2 separate regions of the Homo sapiens genome follow, and region 2 is linked to region 1. Evidence: promoter capture Hi-C in 16 types of primary human blood cells and fetal thymus (Javierre and others, 2016). All regions are on one chromosome and are shown on one strand. Each heading gives the region's core, a stretch centred on a gene start or on the middle of the fragment in contact. The rest is flanking DNA. Distances are from core to core; before and after follow the strand shown.

Region 1 (7,502 bases), core at 2,697-5,196:
CCAGGTGCAGTGGCCCATGCCTATAATCCCAGAACTTTGGGAGGCCGAGGTGGGCAGATCACTTGAGTTCAGGAGTTCGAGACCAGCCTGAGCAACATGGCGAAACCCTGTCTCTACAAAAAATACAAAAAAATCATCCACCAGGCATGGTGGCCCATGCCTGTGGTCACAGCTGGCTTGGGAGGCTGAGGTGGGAGGATCACTTGAGCCCAGGAGGGGTAGGTTGCACTGTGATCATACCACTACACTCCAGCCTGATGACAGAGTAAGACACTGTCTCAAACAAAACAAAACAAAATTAAATCAGAATAGCTAAAGGACAATAAAAGAATACATTTTAAATTCTGAAGAAAAACATTTTCAGTCTAACACTCTCTACCTAGTTGAACTAGGAATTGTGTATAGAATCAAGCTATTCTGAAAGGTGCAAATTTCCATTTCCACATGCATGCTTTCTTAGAAAACTACAAGAGGCTGTGTGTCCCCCCAGTGGGAGCAAAGCAAGACAGAGGACACTGGACATGGGAAGCAGAGGATCCAACCCAGGAAAGAAAGGAAGAGAATCTTCAGAGTGATGGTGCAGGAGAGCCCAGTCGGCCAGCTGTGTGCAGGCCACCAGGCCAGAGGCTCCCAGAGAGGCCAGTCATGAAGACGATTCTGACAGAATACCTGATGTCTCTCAGCTTCTTGATAGGAGACTTAAACAACTAGGGTTAAATTAGTGACTAAATATCTGGAGAAATTATGAAATGAGAAAAGAGAATTACTAACACCAGGGCAAACAAGAAATTGGGCAGGAAAGGAAAAGCATTCATAGTCTACGCACTGGGTCAGTTGTAAGTGGTATTTACAGTGTCATAGGTCAACACTGGCTGCTGATCTAACCCAAATCACCTGAAGACTATACAGATGCCCCTTGACTTAACAATGAGGTTACATCCTGATAAACCCATCCTAAGTGGAAAGTATCCGAAGTCAAAAATGCATTTAATACCCCTAGCCTACCAAACATCATAGCTAAGCCTAGCCTATCTTAAACGTGCTCAGAACACTTAGGTTAGCCTACAGCTGGCAGAATCACCCAGCAGCACAGCATGCTGGAGAGGATGGGTGGTTTGCGCTGGTGATGGCATGGGTGGCTGAGAGCTGACCAGCATCATGAAAAAATATCTACCGAATATCATTAGCCTGGGAAAAGACCAAAATTCAAAATTCGAAGTATGATTTCTACTGAATGCATACTGCTTTTACAACATCTGTAAAGCTGAAAATTCCTAAGTTGAACCATCAGAAGTGTTTGGACCTATATTGGGAGACAGGAAGAGGGTATGTATAATTGGAGGCAGGGAAGAGGGCATCCCAGCTAAAGCCTCATCTTTCAGAGTAGAAAGGCAATGGATAATGTCTATGACTGGGTGGGTGAGGGAACACCAATAAACAGCATTATAAACACGTTGTTTAGAGCTCAAAGAGATGAAGACACTGGGAGAAACTTATATTTCTGCCTGTAGGACCGAATCTTTAAAATATGTGCATAAGGTGGGGCACAGTGGTTCATGCCTACAATCCCAGCACCTTAGGAGGCCAAGGCAGGAGGATTGCTTGAGCCTAGGAGTTTCAGAGCAGCCTGGGCAACACAGAGAGACCCCGTCCCTAGAAAAAAATTAAAAATTATCCAAGTGTGTTGGTGCATGCCTGTGGTCTCAGCTACTTGGGAGGCTGAGATGGGAAGATCGCTTGAGCCCAAGAGGTCAAGGCGGCAGTGAACCATGATGGTGCCACCGCACCTCAGCCTGGGAGACAGAGCAAAACCCTGTCTCAAAACAAAACAAAACAAACAAAAAAGGTGCATAATTAGCTCTGTCAAAAATAAAAACTATAGTAGTAATAAGGGTGATTTTGCTTACATGTTTTCCCATCTTTTTCAAAACGCTTAATGAAATCTAAAAGGATACATGCTAACATGTCAACAGTGATTATTTCTAGTAATGGGATTGTGGGCCACTTACATTTCTTTCACTTTTGTATTTCCTGAAAAAGCGCAGTACACAGAGCATATCGATAATAAATCAGAAAAAAACCCAAAGGCGTTATACTTCATGCCTGGCCCAAATCCACCCCAAGGTAGAAGGCCCATCTCTGTCATTTTAGCTTTTGTTTGCGCTGCTGAAGCAGAGGAGCCTGCCAACTCCTTCATTTGCACAGCAAATATTTGTTGAACTCCTAAAAGCTAGGCCCTGCAAGGCGATTCCAATACCTTCAGCTTTTGAGTCTCCTGAAGTCCTCAATACTCGCTGAGGGAACCAGCTGGGAGAGGAGCTAAGCCAACACTTCTCATACCTTATGTGCATTATGACCACCAGGGGCTTCATAGAGCAGGTCCGGGTGGTATCTGAGACTGGGGGAGCAAGCAAGCTACTTGAGGTACACAAGATTTACTTCAGGTTTCTCAAAGGAACCGCCCAGGTCTTCAGTCACTTCTGCACCATGATGGTGTGCCCATTCTCTAACTCCCACATAGGCTCATTTTCAATTCCCAAATATTTAACAAAAGTCTGTGAGAGATGACAGAGGGGCACTGCTGGGGCAGCTGGAAGCTGTCTCAACTGCTTGCAGTTATGAGCACGGCCCTGCAGAAAGGCAGGCCTGGGTTTGAATCCATGCTTCACCATCCACCGGTGTGATTTACGTCCCCTCTCTAGGCCTTCACAGGGGAGGGTGGTCGTTGGATTACACGAGGGTATGAGGACATCTAAAGGGCTTGACAAGATCCTGGTACACGAAGAAGACTCAAACAGTGACCACCTCTAACTGCTGACAGGACTCCAGTCCTTTCTCAGCTATGAAGGACTGGCTGGGACTTCTGGGAAGATCACGTGAGTTTTCAGCCTCTATGCCCTCCAATGAAGAGAAGAACGCCCATGCCCTGCCTCCTTCCCAGGAATGTTCTGAGCCTAAACCAGGATGTGCACAGCACCATGCAAAAGACCTCTTTGGTCCTAAAATAGGTTATGGCACTCAGATTTTATTCAGTAAAATTTTCCTGACTCACCTCAATGTTACTACCAGGGAGATAATTAGGAAAAGAAAGAAGCCCTTTCCTCTTCCCCTGATCTTAGGAAGCTTTATTTTCAGGGAGGAGGCCATCCACGTGGAGATCAGGTGAGAAAGGCACCAGGTGTCTCTGACACTCAACACAAACTCAATAGCCACTAAGCCAAGCTTCCTGCTCCCAGGATCTGCCGCCGCCACCGAGAGGACCCAACAAGCTGAATTTCTCCCACAGCAAGACATCCTGAGGATCACAACCCTTTCTTCCCAGGACAGCCCGAGTTTCCTGGACCTTGTTTAGAGTCTTTCACTTTGGGAAGAAGGCGAGGCTGAGCAAAAACGGTTCCCTAAAGCCCGCGGGAAGATCTGAGCAGGCTCCATCCCGAGAAGCACGGCGGAAGCACGCGCCGGGGTCCAGCTGAGCCCCCCGCCACCCCCGGCCCGTCGGCACTCACGATCTCGGCCACGATGAGGAAGCCGGGCAGGGTGCGGAGGAACTCCCGGTCGTAGGCGAAGCTGCTGCTGCTGGTGGAGAAGTTCTCTGCGAAGGAGCTGGCGGTGGTGGTGACTGTGTGCGAGCGGGCGCGCTGCGGCTCCTCCATCGTCGAGCCACTGCCGGGCTGGCGCGTCCCCAGGGACCCCGGCGGGTCTGGGGCTGGACGCGCGGCCCTGCGCCCTGGGGACACAGGCGCGGGGGAGGGGAGCGCGGCCCGCGCGGGGCAGGAGGTGCGAGGGGGGCGCCCGCCGGGGGCTGTCCAGGCGCGGCGGGTGTCCCTCTAGTGCGCGGTGCCCCTAGCGCCTCGGTGCGCGGGCTCCCGAGCTGCGCTGGGGCCCTAGAGGAAGAGGAGAGCGAGCGAGGGGAGGCTGCCGGGCAGCCGGGGAAGGCGGTGGAGGCCCGGAGGAGGGGAGGGGGCGGGGAGAGGGGCGGGCGGGAGGCGGGCAGGAGAGGGACCGCCCCGCGGAGGCGCCGCGGACGCCCGCCCTCTTCACCTGTTGCCCGACTCCCAGCGGCGGAGAAGGCGCCGCGTCGCACCCAGGGTGGCTGGGTTGGCAGCCTGGCGGGCGGCGCGGAGGAGAGGGCGCAGGGGTCCTTCTGGCCGTCTTCCGCTCCCCCTCCCGGCCTTTACTTCTGTCAGGCCCCGCCTGGCCCAGGCCCGCAGCCTGTTTCCTTCCACCTGGGCGGGTCGGGGGCTGCGGGCATTGGGGCCCCTTAAGGAAACCCAGGCCTCCAGGGACTCCGCCGCTCCAGGACTCGGCGCGGAGGGAATGACTGAGCGACGACCGAGGCAGGGGGTGATGTGGTACCTCGAATGCTGTGGAAATGGCAGGAATGATGACCCGGCCGGACCTTAGACCCGAGATCGATGAGAGGCCGCCAGCACTGCCCGGGAGACGGCCCGCTCTTCTCCCCCTCCTGCTGCGGCCGCCGCCAGAGCCCGGTGTTATTTCCTGCCCCTCCTGTCGGGAACAATTTGAGGAACCAACTTAATCGCTTGGCTTTGAGGGCGCGACGCTTCCAGGCGCTCTCCGCGGCTCTGTCCCGCGGACCGGTGGAGCCTGGGTGACGGCGCCTGGGCCGGAGGAGGGGAGATGTTTGGGGTCCCTGGCCAGGATGAATCAGCGTAACCGTCCCGTCACCCTCGGGGAAAAAAAATGTTTCAAGAAGGCTTGAAGGGTGTGATTTGTGTAATGTTAACTTTAGGACAAATGAGCTGTGCTTTCCTGGCATGGGAAGGGGATGGGGGTCCTCATTTAGTGAGGCAGTTTGTAACAGGGTCAGGGAAGAACTGAGCTCGGCTGCGTGCGTTTATCGGCTGTATGACCCAGAGCGAGTGGCTCTAGTTTTTGGACCTCAGTAATGCCATCTCTAAAATGCAGGCTTTGACAGATGGACCTCTGAACAAAAAGATTATCTTCCGCTTGGTCCCTCCTTCTATTTTGTGAAAGGGTAGCAAGAAACATTTTATCTGGAAGCCACCAAAAGAAAAGGAAATAATCTTTGGCTATAAATCGAGGGTATCTTTGATTCACAGTGAAGGCATTTCTGCTGATCTGTTCCAAGACAGGTTAAAAACGAGATCAGAAGGGACATTTTCTTCACAGTGTCTTATCAAGTGTGCTGAGAAGAAAGCAAAAACGACAATCTAATAAAATAAAACAAGGAATTAGTGTCTTTTAAGTCTAGGGCCTAGCCAGGAAGACCTCCAGGAGTAAAAGTTAAGGCTTCAAAAGCATGGCAAAGATGTAGATTTGGAGAGATTCCATCCATGTGCATTTGGTAAGCACCTTGGGCTGGTGGGTAAATTCTTAAAATTTAAAATATAGCACTTCTCCCTGGAGCAGTAGTTCTCAAAGTGGTCCTTGGACCAACAGCAGGTAAGTTCCCTGGGAACTTATCAAAAATGCAAGGTCTCAAGCCCCACCCCCAGACCCTCTGAATCAGAAACTCTGAGGGTGGAGCCAGGAAGCTGTGTTTGAACAAGCCCTCCAAAAGACACTGATGCATGCTGAAGTTAGCTGCTGCTTTAGAGAAACTGTTAATGAGTTTGGGGAAATAAGAGATACATACATGAAATGGCTGGAGGAGACTCAAGCATTATGCATGACATTTAGTGAACGTAAAAGACGGAGTCTAGACAACTTTATTTCCATAATATTAACAAAGGACAATCCTCTCTTAAAATTCCTGGGGTCAGATGAATTTCTAAATTCAGATTTTGTTTTTCAATTTAGAAAGGTAAAATGTGCATGTACCATATATTACATAATACCTTTGGTAAGGTCTGGGGTGACACTCTAATATACTAATTTTCTGCAAGGGAAATCATGAATGACATAAGTGTATGCTTGGATTATCTACTGCAATGTAATAAATGTTCACAAAATATTAGTGGCTTAAAATCACCATTTTATTTGCTCAGAAATCTGTTGTGTCAGGAATTTGGGAAGGGCTTGGCTGGCAGGTTCTTCTGCTTTGCATGGTGTGATTGGAGTCATTTACTCAGCTGCTTTCAGTTGGTGACTTGGCAGGGCCAGAAAGTCCAAAAAGTCTTCATTCCCATTTGAGCATTTCAGTGCCCTTTCAACTTGGGCTTTCTAACAGTATGATAAGCTCATGGTGGTTGGACTTCTACCTGGCAGCTGGCTACTGGAAGAGACTTTCTAAGAGGGGCAAATGCAGAAGCAGATCTCTTAAGGCCCAGCCCTGAAGGTTACACGGACTCATTTCCACCACATTCTATTGGTCTAAGCCAATGAATGACAAGGCCAGCCAGAGTCACGCAGAGGGGAAACAGATACCACCTGTGGATGGGAGGAGCAGTAAAGAATTGTGGCTGTCTTTTAATCTAGGTGAGATAAAGACAAAGACAATAAATAGCTTCACATCTGTTTAGGTTATGTTTTTCTACCAAATATGTTTTCTGCAAGCTCAGGAAAAAAAATTTTGGTTTCAGCTTTTGGGATTTCAGAATCACAGAGAAAAAATTATACACTGGTTGCTTGAAAACTAGCTGCCCCTTTCCAACTGCTGCCTACATTTGGGTGATTATCTTCCACCTGAAACTCTACTGATTGGTGCCCATTCTTCCAATAACACCCTTATCCAGTCCACCTTCCGTCTTCCTGCAAGAATTATTGTCCTGAAACCCCAGACTAAGGTACCACTGTGCACAGCATAAGGGCCTATATAAGATATTCAGCCTATCTCTTCTGATCCCTTTTCTCAACCACTTTAGAATGCATACTGTTTCAGCCCCAGATACACTTTGTATATATCACTGTAAGTGTGACCACTTTATGCCCATAGCCAGCTTTTCTCTTAGCCTACAAAGCCTCCCACCTTCACACACAGCTCACAATCTGCAGTCTTCATGGCCCATTTTAAATGCCACCTTTTCTGTGGTTTCTTTGGATTTCCATGAGCTGTTGTTATTTTCTTTTTTGTTTTAGAATTCATTGACTTTATGCACTTCTTTTACAACTTCTCAAGATATATGAATTACCCTTCCTTGTCTGCCCCCTGCTATAGGAGGTATTGAACAAATGCTGAGGCCCAAACTTTTTTTTTTTTTTTTGGAGACAGGGTCTTGTTCTGTCACCCAGGCTGGAGTGCAGTGGCATAGTCACAGCTCACTGCAGCCTTGACCTCCTAGGCTTAAGCAATCCTCCCCACTCAGCCACCTGAGTAGCTGGGACTACAGGCAGGCACAACTACATCCAGCTAATTTGTTTTTTATCCTTTGTAGAGGTGAGGTCCCACTTAGTTGCCCAGGCTGGTCTCAAATTCCTAAACTCAAGTGATCTTCCCACCTCAGCCTCCCAAAGTGCTGGGATTACAGGCATGAGCCACCATGCTGGCTCCAAGCTTCATTCTTAAGTGCAGAAAAATGTCAAAAGAAAAGCTAAGCCCTGGGCTCCCATAATGACTTAACACAGAAGACAGCTTCAAG
Region 2 (7,502 bases), core at 1,520-4,019, 230 kb before region 1:
AACGCTAATTCTTTTCTTAAGCTGTTTTTAACTTATTCATTGAATTTTAACTAATTTGCTATTTAGCAAGTCCATTGAGCTTTTGACTTCATATACTACATTTTCTTTGAAACCATTCTGTTAAGATCTTAAGTTCTTTTGGTGCTAATTCTCCTGTTTGTTGGATTTACGGAGTCTTCCTCCTCATATTGGTTCCATTTTGTCATTTGGGAGTGTGACTCTAGGTTTCCAGTGGCTGAGCCCTTTTTATTTGATCCTCAGGTACTTAATCACCTCTGCACGTGGTATAGCCTCTGGATCCTTGCCTAGCCACCTGTTGCCCTCCTTCTCTCATCTGAAGTCAGAGCATTTAAAATGCCCAGAAAGATTGTTCCACTAGAAGCAGAATGGGACCTGCTGTTGGCACTGGACAAACCCATGTCAACCCATTGCTTTCCCCTTGGAATCCTCTTAAGTCAAGTTAAATCTCAGGTTTATGTGGGCAACAGAGAAAGAAACCAGCTGTTAATAAAGCCAGCCTCTGTGGGTAGGTGGCATGGATGGAGACCCTGAAGTTTTAAATGACCCTTGGGTCCAGGCACGGTGACTCACGCCTGTAATCCCAGCACTTTGGGAGGCCAAGGTGGGCAGATCACTTGAAGTCAGGAGTTTGAGACCAGCCTGGGCAATATGGCGAAACCCCATCTCTATCAAAGATACAAAAAACTAGCTACTTTTATCACATTCATTAGCATTCCCAAGCCCAGGGGCAGACGGAGGAGGTACTACAGAGTGAGGGGGCGAAGGGCATGGTAAAGGGAGGGATGGAGGATGGGGCCATTCTTCAGCAGGCACTTATTCCTTATATCCCACCCATCTATTTCCTTGAACTTGTGCCCTCAAAATCAAGAGCAGTCGCTCCTGCCATCAATGAGCATTCTCTGATTAAAGAATATTTTTACTGAACAAGGGAATATGTTCACACAGTGAAATACAGAAATTCTCTACTGACAGGGAAAGCTGTCTAGCTTAATATGACACTGTGCTTCGTGGTACAGATAAAATTAATATGCTGGGGGAAAGGAGCAGATTAGAAGTTGAGTATGCAGCCTAGGCAGCATGGCAAAACCCTGTCTCTACAAAAAATGTTTAAAAATTAGCCAGGTATGGTGGCATGCGCCTATAGACCTTGCTACTTGGGAGACTGAGGTGGGAGGATCACCTGAGCCTGGGAGTTTGAGGCTGCAATGAGCCGAGATCATGCCACTGCACTCCAGCCTGGGTGACGGTGTGAGACCTTGTCTCAAAAAAAAAAAAAAAAAAAAAAAAAATGTTGAGTACGCATGGTTCCCCAAGCTTTCATTATCCCACAATTTATGCTGGACATAAAGAGACTACATGCAGAGAGGGACCTGCCCCATGGTGCTCTACATGTTTATAGGGAAGTTGGAGGGGGCAACAGTGATTATGCAATTTTATAAGAATGAAAGTCCCTGTTATAGTAAGTGGCCTTATTCAAAAAAGGGCTCTTCAAAGGTTCAGGGGCTAGACTCAGTATGTTAGTGCACTGCGCTGATATGGACCTTTTGAGCCATCTCTCCAACAAGCTACTAAAATGAGGGAGGAAACAAACCTCCATGCCATCCAAATTTGTCTTAACCCCTGACCCTTGGGGTTCTACAGCTGGGCTGGGCCAGGGGTGACATATTTAACAACATGAGAACTAGAAGAGTCGTAGAAGGACATTTGGGACTGTTGTTCATGCCTGTAATAGAAAAAGAGAGAGTGATTCACTTCCCCTTGGCCTCCATGCACTTCTAGGGTCAAGACATTTATACCAGATCAGTTGGGATCTGTCATCCTGTCTTAGGGATGACTCAAGTTGTCCTTTTTCTGGACCCACGAGTTGCCATTTTGTTATCATAAGTACATAGCAGGCAGAGGAAGGTGGCCATAGAACACCTGATACAGAGTATCCAAGTTTTAGTCTATCCACAGAGATCTGAACAAAATGAACCATTCATCTATTTATCCATTGAAGGGAGCTCGGGTAAGCAGAGGTGATTATCATCAGCTTGTGCAGCTTGTAAGTAGATGAAGGTGGACCAGCTGTCCCTGTGGAAGTCAGCATTGAAGGGTCTGGTATAGCTGGCAAATAATATAGTCTTTGCAGTTAAACCTGGCCTCCGGCCAGGTGCGGTGGCTCACGCCTGTAAGCCCAGCACTTTGGGAGGCCGAGGTGGGCAGATCACGAGGTCAGGAGATCAAAACCATCCTGGTGAACACGGTGTAACCCTGTCTCTACTAAAAAAAAAAAAAAATACAAAAAATTAGCTGGGTGTGATACGGGCGCCTGTAGTCCAGTTACTCAGGAGGCTGAGGCAGGAGAATGGCATGACCCCGGGAGGCGGACCTTGCAGTGAGCTGAGGTTGCACCACTACACTCCAGCCTGGGTGACAAAGCGAGACTCCGTCTCAAAAAAACAAACAAAAAACAATGGCCTCCATAATTGATCACTGGGCATCTCAATCCTTTATGGTGGTTCCATGCATATGGTGGATTTGAGCACAGGTTGATTGGTCTGTAGTGGAGGTGATGGCCACATATGTTTGACTTTTTCACTTTAAATGCTTTTCACTAGATGTGTTTGCTTCATATAACCATATAGATAGATACTGAGTTTGTAATTAAATAGTTACATGTCCCCAAGGTAGGGGCCATCCAATATTCGGTATGTCTTTTCTGGTCCAGTCCTGGTTGGCCCAAAGATCTGACCATACAGATGGGCCATTCGTGACAGCCCATGTGGCATGTTTAATCTTAGGGCAGTACTCTCTGTGGCCAGAAATCCCTTCTGGAGTTCAGCCCATTGCACAGAGTGCCCAAAGCTGTGGGCCATCACCCTTGCGCCATCACTAGATGGCTGTAGCATTCCAAAGGCCCTGCTTGCTCAGAGGTGGGTGGGCTCTTTCTTCAGTGATGCTTTCTTGTCAGGTGGCCTGTTTCATAGGTGGCATCTTCATAAAACCAGCAGTTTTTGTAAAACAGTAGGAAAGACACTATTTCTGTCTCCTGGGTGGGCCACCACCTGTTTGACCCACCCTGAAGATGGCTAAAGGCTGAGGAGCTGGGTTTGGCCCTTAATTGGAAGATCCATTTTCTTCTCGTGATGGGATGTTCTGGAGCTTGTCCCACCCATTTGTGAAACTTAGTTCAGAATTGCAGGATGAGAATGTCAAGTTGAAGACTGTTTTGCGTAGGCAGGGCTCAGTGATGCTGGCCGTTGTTTCTCAGCAGCAGGAAGAAGTCCTCAAGTTCAAAAGGTCAAAGTCTAGAAGAAGAACCAGAGAAGTCTGGTTTGCCAAAGGCTCTAATCAACTGTGCAGTTAGTCCCAGACCCCTGTAGTTCCTTGACCCAAAGGAAATAAAGGCTCTAGGGCAAGGCTTCTGTTACTGCTGTCTGGGCTGATTCTTAGGTTCTTTGTTGTTCAGGCTCTTGGGCAAATGTGGCCACATGTCTGATGACTTGGGGGATGGAAGCTGTAGGAATATTCTTAGGTTTGGGATGTACCATCCAGCGGCCAATTTTGCTGTAGGGCCACTTTTCTTCTTCTTCTTCTTTCTTTTTTCTTCTTTTCTCCTCCTCCTCCCCCTCCCCCTCCTCTCCTCCTCTCCTCCTTGTCCTTCTTCTATCTTCTTCTTCTTCTTCTTCCTCTTCCTCTTCCTCCTCCTCCTCCTTCTTCTTCTTTTGTAGTTGGTGGCTATTACAAAGTTTTCCTTATTTAATTGTGAAATATCTATTTGAGCTGTGACACAGCCCCCAAGATGACCACTTGAAAGGCAGAGCGCCTGGGTTTTGTCCTTGCTCAGGGCCCACCTGTCTTTCGTCAGTGGTGCTTGGGTGGCATGTAACGCCCTGAAAGCAGTCTTCTTTGTGCAGACATGATGGAAATGCCTGCCCATACACCAGCAGTTCACACTGTGCTGGGTTTGTCCAACCCACTGATGCCACATCACTGGGAAATTCAGGGCAATAAAAGTGTGCTATATGCTGTGCTCGTGAAAGCAAACTGACATTCCCCACAGGGAGATCTAAAATAATGCATTAGCAATACCCTAGGTTGCAAACCAAGTACCAGGTAGGATGGCAGCAAAACATTCATTCATTTTTATTATGTCAGCACAATTGAAACAAAAGATGGCCACACTCTTTTTGAAGCTTCCCTAATCCACAGTAGAGTTCCCAGCATCCATTCGACAGACAGGGATGTTCAGCTAAAGAAAGCTCTGTATAGGCTGGGCACGGTGGCTCCTTTGGGACGCTGAAGCAGGTGGGTCACCTGAGGTCGGTAGTTCAAGACCAGCCTGACCAACATGGAGAAACCCTGTCTCTAGTAAAAATACAAAAAAATTAGCCAGGTGTGGTGGCTCATGTCTGTAATCCCAGCTACTCGGGAGGCTGAGGCAGGAGAATCGTTTGAACCTGGGAGGCGGAGGTTGTGGTGAGCTGAGATCACGCCATTGCACTCCAGCTGGGCAATAAAAGCGGAACTCCATCTCAAAAAAAGAAAGCGCTGTATAGCACCTCTGTTGGTATAAAACCTGTGTGAGAAGACCAAATACTTTTTCTTCTCCCAGAAAGAGGCATTGTTTCAAATGTTATGCTTGGCAAGCTTTATGAGTAAACACCATTCTTGGGCATGCATCTGACTGCTCCTGATATGAGTCACCAACAGGGGTCACAATAAATGTATCCAGTGAACAGGTTCTTGCAAAAGAGAAGCACAATCCAGGCAAACACACACACACACAGACACACACACACACACAACACACCACCTCACAAAACCACAGCAAGTATGTAGTAAGTTTAGGAATATTTGGGACTTCCTCCTGGGTAGGAATGAATCTGGGGATGCAACCCCACATCTAAGTCTTGTCCCTCTGCTGTCGTTTGCCCCAGACTGAGTTGTATCAGCTGAGACTTAGATCTTTGCTCCACAGGAACTGTGACATCCACTCCAGGTTTTGTATCAGGTCATCTGCTGTTCTGAGCACCCTTACAGCCCCCTAGCTAGTCCAGCTCTGCCTGTCCCTTTCATTCCATCCATACCTGGCTTTCAGTCATAACATGTATTATGCAGGTTTTTTTCTGGGCTTTTTTTCTGATATGCAGTGGCCTCATTACTCAGAGTTTGCATTTTGTAAGAAATCCACCTCTTGTTCAAATGACTTGCTTGTTTGAGAAGTTTAGTGGCTGAAGACTCGTTTTGTCTCACTCATCCCTCTGGGGCCTTGCGGTCTTTCTCTTTCCAGTCCCCTGGCCAATCAGCCAAGCCGTTCACCACTCCCTGAGTCTGTATATTTTCTTTCCAGCGGATGATCAGATGCACTGCCCAGAGCTTTGCCCATTGGGAGTGTTTCCTTTCACTGCTGTCTTTCAAGGCTACCCCTGAAATAACACTATTAGTGCAGCCAGCACACATTTTCAGCTTGTATCCACGTGGCCCGCTGAGCCATCATCATGAGTGAACCAGGGAAGGAGAGTGAGCCAATATGAGGATATTACTGAGTTAGCCACCACTGTGTGATTGGTTGCTCGATTCCACAGGACTGTCCTCTGAGAAGCTGTGTAAAATGTGCCTCAGGGTGGTCTGGTCCAGGAGAGGAGGAGGAAGAATGCACGCACTGGTTCCTGTGTCCCATTGGTCAGTGTTACCTCACAGGGAGTGAATTCCCCTGCAGCACTTGCAAGTTGCACTGTGTGGCCGCTGAGCAGGTCCCATGGCAGTGTCCACAGGAAAGCGCCAAGGTGACAGTTGAAGGCCCAAATCACAGCTATCAGGTTATGCTGGCATGACATGGTCGTAGGCCTTGCAGGGCTAGCACTGCAGTGGTGGCTGGATCAAGGGATAGGTGAGGCCAAGAGGATGTAACATGTTGCATAATGGTAAGTGAATAAAGTCCTGAAAGATTACATACAGTGTGGTATCTTTTCCATTTAATTATAAACTACCAAGATTACAAGAAATGCAAGCCCGTGATCAATGGGGGATTTGGGAGGTTACCTTGGGAGGAAAAAGATGGGAGGGTGATGAACTGAAGAAGCATATTGTTACAGTTGAATGCAGGTTGTCACGACTAGCTTCAGTGCTGACTATAAACAAAAAATAGGGAAGGAGGGAGGAAGGAGGCCATGCATGGACCATGATTAGAGTGTAAGAGTGTTATGAACTCAGGATGATGATTAATCTGTGTACCTGAGGTTCAAATAAAACGTGCAGGCCGGGCGCGGTGGCTCACGCCTGTAATCCTAGCACTTTGAGAGGCCGAGGTGGGCGGATCATGAGGTCAGGAGTTTGAGACCAGCCTGGCCAACATGGTGAAACCCCGTCTCTACTAAAATACAAAAATTAGCCGGGCGTGGCGGTGGGCGCCTGTAATCCCAGCTACTGGGTAGGCTGAGGCAAGAGAATTGCTTGAACCTGGGAGTTGGAGGTTGCAGTGAGCCGAGATCGTGCCGCCACTGGACTCCAGCCTGGGTGACAGAGTTAGACTCTGTCTCAAAAAGAAAAAGAAACCCACAAAACAACAACAACAAAACCCCCCAAAAAACAGCAACAAAAAAACCGTGCAAGTGGATGCTTCTAATGTGAACAGTTCTTAGCTTTCCCAGAGGCGTGGCTCTCCCCAAGGAACGCGGCGGCGATGCTTCCCGATGGCCGCCAGGGGGCGTGCGCGGCCAGGAGCGGGCGCGTTGCGCGCGGGCTCCTGCAGCCACCTGCTTGGTGGGTTTTGTTTTCGCTACAGGAGAGCTGTGTCCAGCTGGGAGGTGTGGCAGCAGGCACAGCTGTTGGCCGGGGACCCCGGGGGCTCCCCAGGGAGGGCCTCCGCCCAGCGCGCTGCCCCTGGGTTCGCTAGGAAGCATCTGCCAGACCGGCGGGGCCCCGACTTTCCGGAGAACTGCCAAGACCCTGGGGCAAGCGCTTGAGGGCCCTCCTGGGCAGGATCGCAAACTGGGGCTGGCTGCTTCAGCTAGCCCCCAGCAGGTGTGTTTGGCCTGAAGTGTATCTTTGAAAAGATACTTGGCAGCATTTAAAAATCGGGAAATGTTTAGCGTGGAAATCCAGATGACCATTTCTCTGGGTCACTTGGGGCATCTGGCAGCACTTGGCCAGCGGCTCGCTCCACACGCATCCCTGCCCGGCTGATGAGGTTTGTCACAGTTTCGGTTAAATCAGTATTCCGCGTGACCATTATTCTGGCTGTTATCACTATTCACAACTGAGCCAAGCGGCACACTTCATGCTGTGGTAACATTTCCTTTTTTGCATAACTCTACGTGGAGTATTTTTTATTTTATTTTTATTTTATTTTTTTGAGAAGGAGTTTCGCTCTTTTTGCCCAGGCTGGAGTGCAATGGTGCAATCTCGCCTCATCACAACCTCTCCGCCTCCTGGGTTCAAGTGATTCTCCTGCCTCAGCCTCCCGAGTAGCTGGGATTACAGGCATGCACTACCAC

The links. The method cuts DNA at HindIII sites, captures the fragments that hold promoters and counts their contacts. A CHiCAGO score of 5 or more calls a contact.
Region 2: a fragment that was not itself captured here is called in contact with the fragment with the promoter of CMTM8 in region 1 in 1 of 17 cell types (non-activated CD4 T cells); the score reaches 6.7 in non-activated CD4 T cells.

What each region holds. Positions count from the first base shown.
Region 1 is chr3:32,235,124-32,242,625 of GRCh38, reverse strand. CMTM8 (CKLF like MARVEL transmembrane domain containing 8) reads right to left here and starts at 3,946. Exons shown (of 4, transcript NM_178868.5): 1 at 3,507-3,946. The coding sequence starts at 3,653. RefSeq lists a silencer at 3,933-4,142. The HindIII fragment of the contact is 4,195 bases long and covers 3,225-7,419 here.
Region 2 is chr3:32,467,210-32,474,711 of GRCh38, reverse strand. No RefSeq gene overlaps it. Among named protein-coding and RNA genes, the nearest start is that of CMTM6, 32 kb to the left of the region's middle. RefSeq lists silencers at 6,256-6,365, 6,956-7,025. The HindIII fragment of the contact is 2,864 bases long and covers 1,338-4,201 here.